Regions from separate parts of the Homo sapiens genome. Here regions 1 and 3 are each linked to region 2. Evidence: promoter capture Hi-C in 16 types of primary human blood cells and fetal thymus (Javierre and others, 2016). All regions are on one chromosome and are shown on one strand. The core of a region is centred on a gene start or on the middle of the fragment in contact, and the rest is flanking DNA. Distances in the headings are between cores, read along the strand shown. Region 1 holds the start of ZNF639 (zinc finger protein 639). Region 2 overlaps FXR1 (FMR1 autosomal homolog 1). Region 3 holds the start of MFN1 (mitofusin 1).

What was found. The method cuts DNA at HindIII sites, captures the fragments that hold promoters and counts their contacts. A CHiCAGO score of 5 or more calls a contact.
Region 1: the fragment with the promoter of ZNF639 here is called in contact with a fragment that was not itself captured in region 2 in 1 of 17 cell types (naive CD8 T cells); the score reaches 5.3 in naive CD8 T cells.
Region 3: the fragment with the promoter of MFN1 here is called in contact with a fragment that was not itself captured in region 2 in 1 of 17 cell types (non-activated CD4 T cells); the score reaches 6.1 in non-activated CD4 T cells.

Annotation. Positions count from the first base shown.
Region 1 is chr3:179,321,679-179,324,772 of GRCh38, forward strand. ZNF639 (zinc finger protein 639) reads left to right here and starts at 1,353. Exons shown (of 6, transcript NM_001303426.2): 1 at 1,353-1,613. RefSeq lists silencers at 1,083-1,522, 1,553-1,692 and an enhancer at 2,263-2,312. The HindIII fragment of the contact is 4,241 bases long and covers 1-2,448 here.
Region 2 is chr3:180,914,595-180,917,668 of GRCh38, forward strand. The region is part of intron 1 of FXR1 (FMR1 autosomal homolog 1); the gene reads left to right. Among named protein-coding and RNA genes, the nearest start is that of FXR1, 3.5 kb to the left of the region's middle. The HindIII fragment of the contact is 4,178 bases long and covers 1-3,074 here.
Region 3 is chr3:179,346,176-179,349,606 of GRCh38, forward strand. It overlaps MFN1 (mitofusin 1), which reads left to right and starts at 1,534. Exons shown (of 18, transcript NM_033540.3): 1 at 1,534-1,635; 2 at 2,670-2,788. The coding sequence starts at 2,677. RefSeq lists enhancers at 1,243-1,772, 2,106-2,325 and a silencer at 1,826-1,985. The HindIII fragment of the contact is 3,693 bases long and covers 900-3,431 here.

The DNA of each region.
Region 1 (3,094 bases), core at 103-2,602, 1.6 Mb before region 2:
TTTGGAGTAAAACTTCATTTTGAAATATAAAGATTTTGTTGGACACAAGGCTATGTGGTAAGGCAAAATGGTAAGATGGTGGCATGACACCCCCTTGTGGTTTCCACCGATTCCCGGTTCTGTGCTAGATACTAACTATTCTAGGATTTAAAAATGTCTCTACATTTCTTCGAACTTTAATTCGGGCCATACTAGCATTCGTGAGCATTTATTTGAGCTGAGTACGCACATAAAACTTAGGAGGTCATAAAAACTGAGCCTCACAAACAAGTAGTGTCTCTTTCAAATATAGCTTTATCTCCTGGGGGATGGTGAAGGGATCAGAGTAAAGTCTGTGATTATTACTTTCCAGCGATTGATTGGTTGATTGGCATGTGGTTGTCAGAAAAAGCAGTGGACGTGAACAAAGAGACATCATTGCAGCCCTAACTATCCGAGTGACCTTGGGTACCTGATAATCCACATGGCTCTCAGTCATCCTCTTAACCGTTTGAACCTCAGGGGTTTAGGCTACCAAAATGAATTAAGACCCAGTCTTTAGCTTCTCACACATTTACTTTTCCATTTTGTAAAATGTGACTAAAAACCTCAACTCATTGTCAAAAGGACTGAATTAAACATATCACCACACTTGCACAGAGATCATTTATGGAACCATGTTCACAAATTTATTTATGCTCGTGTAATTTAATCATTTCTACAGCTGCTCAAAGAAAGTCAAAGTCGAGAAAGGACTTAAATCGTCGAGTCCAGTCCCCCTTAACTCCTCATTCATTCCACTATTTCTCGAGCCAAGGAATCGGGTGAAACTCAACAACGACTCGCAGTCTTCAGGTTTCACCCTCTTGCCCTGAGGGCAGCATCCTAGCCCTAGGTGGTTCTCTGGTGTGGCCTCAGTAAAACCGTGACGAGGTCCTCGGCCTCTCTGTCCCCAACAGGCGGCTGGCACACTTCGGGGTCTGAGATGCCATCTGCCTTGCCTAACCTGGGCAAGACCACTCGCGTCCTTTCCCTTGAGGAGCAGCGTGGGAAAGGTGCCGCTGCGCGCCACGTTTCTCCCAGTTCCCCAGGGCTTGAAGGGGCGGTGGAGGCGGGCGGGATAAATTCGCTGGCCGCCTGGCGTGGAGTAATCCTAGAGGGTGGGATCGCCCTCGGGGCTCGGGAGGGGCTCTTCCCCGCCCAGAAGGAGACTGCGGCGGCGCAAGGCCTCCGGCAGGGGGCGCGGGCCGCTGGGCCTCCCCCGGGGCTGCGGGCCGGTGGTCCCTCCCAGGCCGCGTGTGCGGTGCGTTCGCGCAGCCCGCTCCCTGCCCCCACCTCACCTCGTCACCTCCCCGCCCTCTCGGCGGGCCCCTGAGGTGCGCGGCGCAGGCGCGGAGCGTGGCGGCCAGGGCAGTGCGGCCGCGGAGCCTAGGCCAGGGGCCTGGCGCTCAGGGCGTGGGGCGCGCGGGGAGGGAGAGGGGTCGGCCCAGCACAGCGTCCGGGAGCGCTAGGGCCGGAGCAGCGCTGCCCGCCGCCGTGCGTCCGCGGGAAGGACCGCGCGGCCCCTCCGCCTGCGCTCTCGGCCGCCGCCGCCTCTGCGTGGGCCGGCCGGGAGGGCCTCGGGGGACTGACTGGTGAGTGTGAGGGAGGAGCGGGTGGGTCGGGCGCTGGACTGCTCCAGGGGACGCGGGCGTGCGGGCGCATCTTCTAACGGGAGAGGGCGGGAGAGACCGGAGCTCCCTTTATACGGAAACTCTGCCTTCGTTATATGGCGGGATGGCGTTCCCCTCCCCCATCCCGAAGGCAGTTCCACCCCCTGCGCAGGACGCCTTGGCCGGGCTCCCCTCGGCCCCCTGCTGCCGTTGTCTTTACGGAACCTTTGGTGTCGGGGCTTGGAAGTCTCCTTGGCGCCGGCTTCTGGGCCCGGGCGAAGCTGGTGCGTGGCGCCGGGGTGGAGGCGGCTAAGTCCCAGGGACTTCTGCCCTGCGCCTCCGACGGGCATTTGTCTGGCTGCGTCCGGGCTCGGGACGATCCTGGGTCCTCGCTGGCGCTGCGGCCCTGCCCGGCGGCTTCGTGACCTCCGGCGGCGAATCCCCGGGCTCGCGCAACGAGTTGTAGCCGCGGAGAGCAGGCGTCGATGCTGGCGCCCAAAGCCTCCAGCCTGAGAGTCGCCTCACTCGTGTGACGGTGCTTAGAAACCCCCTTTTTTGGTTTTGTCTTTAAGTACTGTCTAGGGAAACGAATCATTTGAAGCAGTTTATGCCTTTTTTGTTTTTTTCGAAGAGAAAGATTTATGCCGGACTGAAAAATAGCGAATCAAGTATTTAGTGACCGTGTGATATTGCAGTAAAGACTGCCTCCACGTTGGACATGTAGTGGATTCTAGTTCAGGCTCTCCTGCAACATGTTTTTGTTTCAATTCTTTTACAATTTAAAGCATATGCTTATTTTAATGAGAACGAAAAAGAAAGCTTAACTCTTTTTAAACTCGTTAAAAATGGAGTTATTTACTGTAAAGACGTCTTACAGCAATTAGGAAGAATATACATTGCATGAAAGGCCTTTTGAAACGTTTATCTATTTGATGATTGCTGACTGCCTGTTGTATGTATTCTATTTTGTGCATAGACTTTCTTGTTGGTTGAAAAAAATGACAGGTGGAAAGATGTTGGTTTCTAGGTGATATAAAAAATTTTTAAACATTTTTCTGATTTTTCTGCAGTGACACGTGTTACATATGTCGTTTGTATTTCAGAGGGAGGGGGGACTGTGATAGGTTGCTTGTGATTCAGAATCTTCCTGCTAAGAAGACTAGTGAGCAAATGTTTATGACATCCTTGAGTAGAAAGCTAAGTTTTTTCAAGGCTGTTATGCACACAAAAGGCACATAAAAATGATTGCTAAAATGAAGGATGGTTAGCATTTTTGGTCTTGAGTAGGCATCACCATTGTGCTGAAAGGAAGTCCGATAGACATTTGGTTATCGTTCGGCCCTAAGTAGGAGTCAGACCCTTCCTGATCCGTGTGCCTCCTCCTCTCACCTAACAGCCTGAATCCAGGCCAGCTTGCAACGTTGATTTTAATACCACGCTTGGTTTCCTTTTCTTACTTTTAT
Region 2 (3,074 bases), core at 306-2,805:
TTAGTAAAGATTGTTTGCAGTCTTACTTTGGTTTCTCACGGTATTTTTTTTTTCCAGTCAATTCACAATGAATCAAATGTCCCCATTTTGGAACTCTGAAGTATTTATAATTGATCTCTATACATATCTACAATCTACTGCTTGTTTCTACTTAGACTTTGACTCCATTACTCATTTTGCCTCACAAAGTGAGTTGGTACTTTGACAAAGGTTGGAAAGGACACTAGCCACCTGTGTGTGCACTGAAATCATGTACGCTTGAACATTTGGAATTTTATGTCCAGCCATAATCCACTTGCATATGCACTTTGTGGAAACTGTGGTCTTCAGAACTCTGGAAGAATGAGAATGGCGGAGTGGAAAAGAGTCCTGGATTTGAAGTAAACAGATGAGAATTCTAGGTCTGTACTTCACCTTACCATTATCTAACAATGGACCCCTGAACAAATCTCTCTGTCTAACATGAGGGGCTTGAAGTAGTTCTGTGATCCCCAGTATATTTTTATCCTATTAAACTGCTGACTTGAAAACCATTGGCTTATTGCACAGAAGTTTATTGCTTTTTATTCATTAGAATGTAAAAGTTAATGTTAATTTACATACAGTAAAATAAGCCTTTTTTGGTGTACGGTTATGAATCTTGATAAATGCTGACAATTATCAAGATTAACTGTCACTTTAACTGTGGTGGTGTCAGCATTTATCAAGATTCATAGCCCCCAAATTTCCGTCATGCCCTTTTCAGTCAACCATTCCTCAACCCCAGCTTCTAGAGTGTTTTCTGTCCCCATAGTTTTTCTTATTCAGAACGTTACGTATATAGAATCGTACACTATATTGTGTAGTGTTTTGAGTCCGGCTTCCATTTAGCGTAGAAGCAATTTAATTTTAATTAGTTTTTTTCCAATTTAGAAGATAATACATGGTCACTGAGGTAATTTTGGAACTCAGCAAAAACTAGAAGTTGCCTTGAGATGAGAGCTGTTAACATTTTAGTGTATTTCTTTGGTTTTTTTTGGTGGTTTTTCAATGTACAGGTGATCTGAATTTCCCTTTTTTCCCCTCCTCTTACCCCGTATAGGCAGAAGACACACATTTGGCCGTAAGTGTGAATTGCCATTGATGAGTTTCAAAGTCAGTTATCATGCCTTGAGGCAGTACTCTGTAGACTTTGATTAAAGTTTTTGTAGTAGAACTGAAACTTCATTTCACAAATTAATTGGAACCAGTGAAACGCTGAAGATCTGAATATTTTACCTAAAATTAGGGTAGCCTTTAAAAAATAGTATGTACACAAATGGTGGCATGCTAAATACATTGTTCTGCATTTAACAGTGGCTCTATAGTTAGAGATATTAGAAACTTGATTTGTGCATGTTCGTAGCCCTATAAATCTGCGGGGATGAGAGAGAATGGGAAGATGTTAATTAAGCATTTGTTGGTGGGCTATGCTGTTATATAAAATAACATTATAGGCTTTGTACTTTTGTACTTCTCATACCTAAAGTAGCATCTTAGGTTTTATACTACTGGACATTTAAGGTGTCTTGAAAAAGAAAGTTTTAATGAGGTAGAATGTATATTCTATAAAACAACCTTTTTTAAGTGTACAGTTGAATGACAGTGTATTTACAGAGTTGTGTAACCACCGCCACAGTCTTCCTTCAGAACGTTCCATTACCCCACAGAAACCTCCGGCTCATTTGCATCATTAAAGTGCTTTTTAACTGATGTATAAATATATATTAGTCTTTGTAATAGCATTGCAATTTGTATGGCCTTGGGCTGAGTATAATTTCATTTTATTTTTATTTTTTGAGACAGAATCTTGCTCTTTTGCCCGGGTGGGAGCACAGTGGTGGGAGCGCAGTGGTGCGATCTCGGCTCACTGCAACCTCCACCTCCCAGGTTCAAGTGATTCTCCTGCCTCAGCCTCCCAGGTAGCTGGGACAACAGGCATGTGCTAACATGGCCGGCTAATTTTTGTATTTTTAGTAGAGACGGGGTTTTACTGTGTAGGCCAGGCTGGCCTCGAACTCCTGACGTCAAATGATCGCCCTCCTCGGCCTCCCAAAGTGCTGGGATTACAGGTGTGAGCCACCACGCCCGACCATGAGTATAATTTTAAATAGAAGTTGGAAGTAAGTCACTCAGTTTCTGGCTCATAGGAAAGTTTCCATGATGTTCGAAGGGAACCTGTAAGCTCTGAGATTTCAGTCACTTTCTGCAGAAGGTAGAGTTACATTTTTTTGTTTTCTTGAGACGGAGTCTTGCTCTGTCACCAGGCTGGAGTGCAGTGGTGCAATCTTGGCTGGCTGCAACCTCTGACTCAGTGGTTCAAGCGATTCTCCTGCCTCAGCCTCCTGAGTAGCTGGTATTTCAGGGACGCACCACCACGCCCAGCTAATTTTTTGTATTTTTAGTAGAGACGGAGTTTCACCATGTTGGCCAGGATGTTCTCGATCTCCAGGATGGCCTCCATCTGTCCGCCTCGGCGTCCCAAGGTGCTGGGAATACAGGCGTGAGCCACCGCGCCTGGCCAGAGTTAATTACTTTTAGAGCTGTCTGCTTCCACCGTGTAACTGTCTACAAAACAAATCTCAAAGTACTATATTTCTATAATTCCCTGTTTAGCTTGATTTAATATTAAGTGGAATTTGAGCGTAATCTAAATTATGCATAGATATATTAATAATGATGACCAATAGAATTATAGTAAAAAGTTGCGTTCAGAGGGTATGCTGACTTTTCAAGGTTAGTACAGAATCTTGTTAGTTGGTTTCATTGTGGAGATTTGTAATTGAAAAAACGATAATTGTCTTAATATTAGGCCACCCTGTTAATTTAAAAATACATAGTTCCAGATAATTTAAAATGGTTGTTTTGCATATTTAAAAAGATAATTTTCATTAAAATGCTAAGTAATGAAGATTTAACTGGATGTCAAAATAAATGATCACAACAGCTTTTATTTTCATTCACAGATAGTTGCAAAACGTGGAGGGGAAGGAAGGCTGGGATTTTCTACTCTATCTTGCTGATGGTGATCACAGTTATTAAAAAGTCAACTTAGG
Region 3 (3,431 bases), core at 284-2,783, 1.6 Mb before region 2:
TTACTTACTATATTAAACATTTAATTACCGTGCTATAATTTATAGCCTGTAATATGTCACTCTTGCTTTAAAATGCAGTAATTATATTAAATATAATTATTAAGTACAGAACTAATAAAAGGATACCATCATGATTTTTAAAATTCAAACAGAGTAAATGTTCCCTTTGAGACTACCTATGCTCAGAACTGATGGATTAGCTGGCACGACCCAGACCGATAAACTGGCTCATCTGACCTAGTGTCCCCCAACCCAGGAACTGACTCGTGCAGAAAGACAGCTTCCACTCCCTGCGATTTCATCCCTGACCAATCAGCACTCCTGGCTCAGTGGCCTCCCCCAACCCACCAAATTGTCCTTAAAAATTCTGCTCCCCAGTGCTGCTCGGGGAGACTGATTTCAGTAATAATAAAACTCCAGTCTCCCATACAGCCGGCTTTGCGTGACTAAGTCTTTATTTGCAATCCCCCTGTCTTGTATCAGTTCTGGCTAGTCAGCGGGCAAGGTGAAGGCTTTCCTTGGGCGGTTACCATCCGAAGCTTTAATTTTAAGTATAATGGCAAGCTGTTGGAAAGCTTTTTTTTTTTTTTTTTTTTTTTTTTTTTTTTTTTTGAGATGGAGTCTGGCTCTGTCGCCCAGGCTGGAGTGCAGTGGCGCGATCTCGGCTCACTGTAACCTCCGCCTCCCGGGTTCAAGCAATTCTCTGCCTCAGGCTCCTGAGTAGCTGGAACTACAGGCGCCCGCCACCACCACGCCCGGCTACTTCTTGTATTTTTAGTAGAGACGGGCGTTCACCGTGTTAGCCAGGATGCTCCCGATCTCCTGACCTTGTGATCCGCCCGCCTCGGCCTCCCAAAGTGCTGGGATTACAGGCGTGAGCCACCCCGCCCGGCCTGGAAAGCTTTTTAAGTTCGGAAAGTAATACGATCTGGATTTCTTTTCTTTTATTTATTTATTTATTTATTTGAAAAAATGTCTCGCTCTCTTGCCCAGGCTGGAGTGCAGTGGCACGATAAATCACAGTTCGCTGCAGCCCCGGGCCCAAACAATCCCCCCGCCTCAGTCTCCGAAGTAGCTGGGACCACAGGTGTGTGCCACCACGCCTCGCTAAGTTTTTAAAATTTTTTTAATTTTTCATTTTTTAATTTTGTAGAGACGGGGAGGAGGAAGAGGGTCGGGGGCGGGGGGGGGGGCGCCTCCCTATGTTGCCCAGCCTAGTCTCGAACTCCTGGGCTTAAGAGATATCCCACCCCTTCGGTCTCCCAAAGTGCTGGGATTATAGGCGTCAGCCACCACCATCATTGGAAGCTAGCTAAGCCTAGGCTGGGCAGATACTTGGACACTTTGAGGGGAGAAGGGAGGGGAAGAAGTTGGAAGGGGGAACGGAAAACCACTCTCCTGGTAGCAGTCTCTGCCCACAACAAACCTTGCCTTCTGCCCTTAAGGAAAATGGCGCCTGGCATAGATGCGCTTCCGGCCACGGAGCCAAACAGAACAGAGGAGGCAAGAGGCCGGAAGTGACCGCCCTTTGCCACTCCCCCTGCCTCCTCTCCGCCTTTAACTTCTCGGGAAGATGAGGCAGTTTGGCATCTGTGGCCGAGTTGCTGTTGCCGGGTGATAGTTGGAGCGGAGACTGTGAGTGCCGGCTGCCTCGACAGCACGTTTGCGACGCTCGGAGTGACCTTCGAGCGACTGGGGACCGGGGGCGGGAGTCGTGCATGCAGCGTTGTGTGACGAGGCGCCGCCCGCCGCGGTCCTGTGGGAAAGGAGAGAGCCAGCTGTCGGGCGAACGGGGCTGGCGGCCGAGTCGAGCCCACGGAGCCCACGAGGCCGTGCTCGGGGGTGGGATTGGGGGATCCGGACCTAGACGGTCGTGCGCGGGGCGGGGGTGGGCTCTGGCCCTGACTCCTGCGCCCGGTGTGGGAAGGTGGGAGGCCTTTTCTAAGGCAGGTGTTCACACCGGCCGGACCGGGGCGTTACCCCCACCCGGCTTTTCCCACGCAGCTCCTTCGCGCGGTCATTTCTTGACTCTCTGGAAGAATCCGCCTTCTTTATGGCCACTGTTCCTTTCCATGTACACACCAGGATTAGACCGTGATTGTTTGTCTTTGGTGTCTTTTTCTTGAGAAACCACCTATGCTTTCTTAAACTTATAGTCCTTGAAGTTTCTGGTACTTTGGCTGGAAGCGTTAATGCCCTCTTGAAGCCTTACCTTTCTAAATGTCAGCCTCACATTGTGATCTTAGAATTTTATTTCCTCACTCTGCATATCCACTCCTACTCACCTAGAGCTTCAGGTTGAGAAACTTAGTAACTTCCTTATTGTGTGTGAATTTGGCTTCGCCTCACTAACCCTGTTCCCTGATGTACTTTAGAGTCACATGCAGTGACAAACTTAGTCACAATTAGTTTCGTCTTCACCAAAGGGAAATTGAGTAGAAATTGCAACCAAGATTTTGGCTAATAGATTTCACTTATTTTAGTGAAATATCATTCAAAAGTCGTCTCTAACTGTCTGACTAGAACACTCCCAAAAAAGAATTACCTAAAAACATTTTGCCAGCATAATTTATTTCATTGGGGAGTTGATGAATGTCACTGGTGTGTCATCAGTTTGCATGTCTATCATCCACTTTAGTTGGTGCTTTTCTAACTTTATCTCCCTCTAGTAGCATAATGGCAGAACCTGTTTCTCCACTGAAGCACTTTGTGCTGGCTAAGAAGGCGATTACTGCAATCTTTGACCAGTTACTGGAGTTTGTTACTGAAGGATCACATTTTGTTGAAGGTTAGTTCTTCTTAAGTTTTTAAAGTAATTACTGTTGAAAATATATAAAAGTGCTTATTCTTTCAACGTTAGTTATTGAACACATGTATAGGGCATTATACTGTATACTATGAGAAGTACCATAATGAATAAAACCCCTTTCTAACCTCCAGAAGGGGAAAATTAAATGGTATTAATAACAACTAAGAACTTTAGTATATTAATAGCTCATTTAATTTTCATCACCACTAGGTGATGAGAAATAGCTATGTTAATAGTTCATTTAATTTTCATCACCACCATCTGTCATTTTAAAGATGAAGAGACGAAGTCAAAGAAAAGTTAAACAGTTTGCCCAAGATCACACAGCTAATAAGTGCCCAGACAAAAAATCAGGCAGTCCACATTTAACCATTATACTTGTCTCCTCCCCAATTTAGCAGTTAAGCCAAGACCTCAGACATATCTCATTCTCTCAAATGAGGCTGAATTGCAGTGGAAAGGGGGAAAAAGGAGTTTCATAACTGTTAAAGGTGATGAGGAATGTCATGTCTTACTAGGGAATACTTCTTTTTTTTTTTTTTGAGACAGAGTCTTGTCTTGTTGCCCAGGCTGGAGTGCAGTGGCATGTTCTTGGCTCACTGCAGCCTCCACTTCCTGGGTT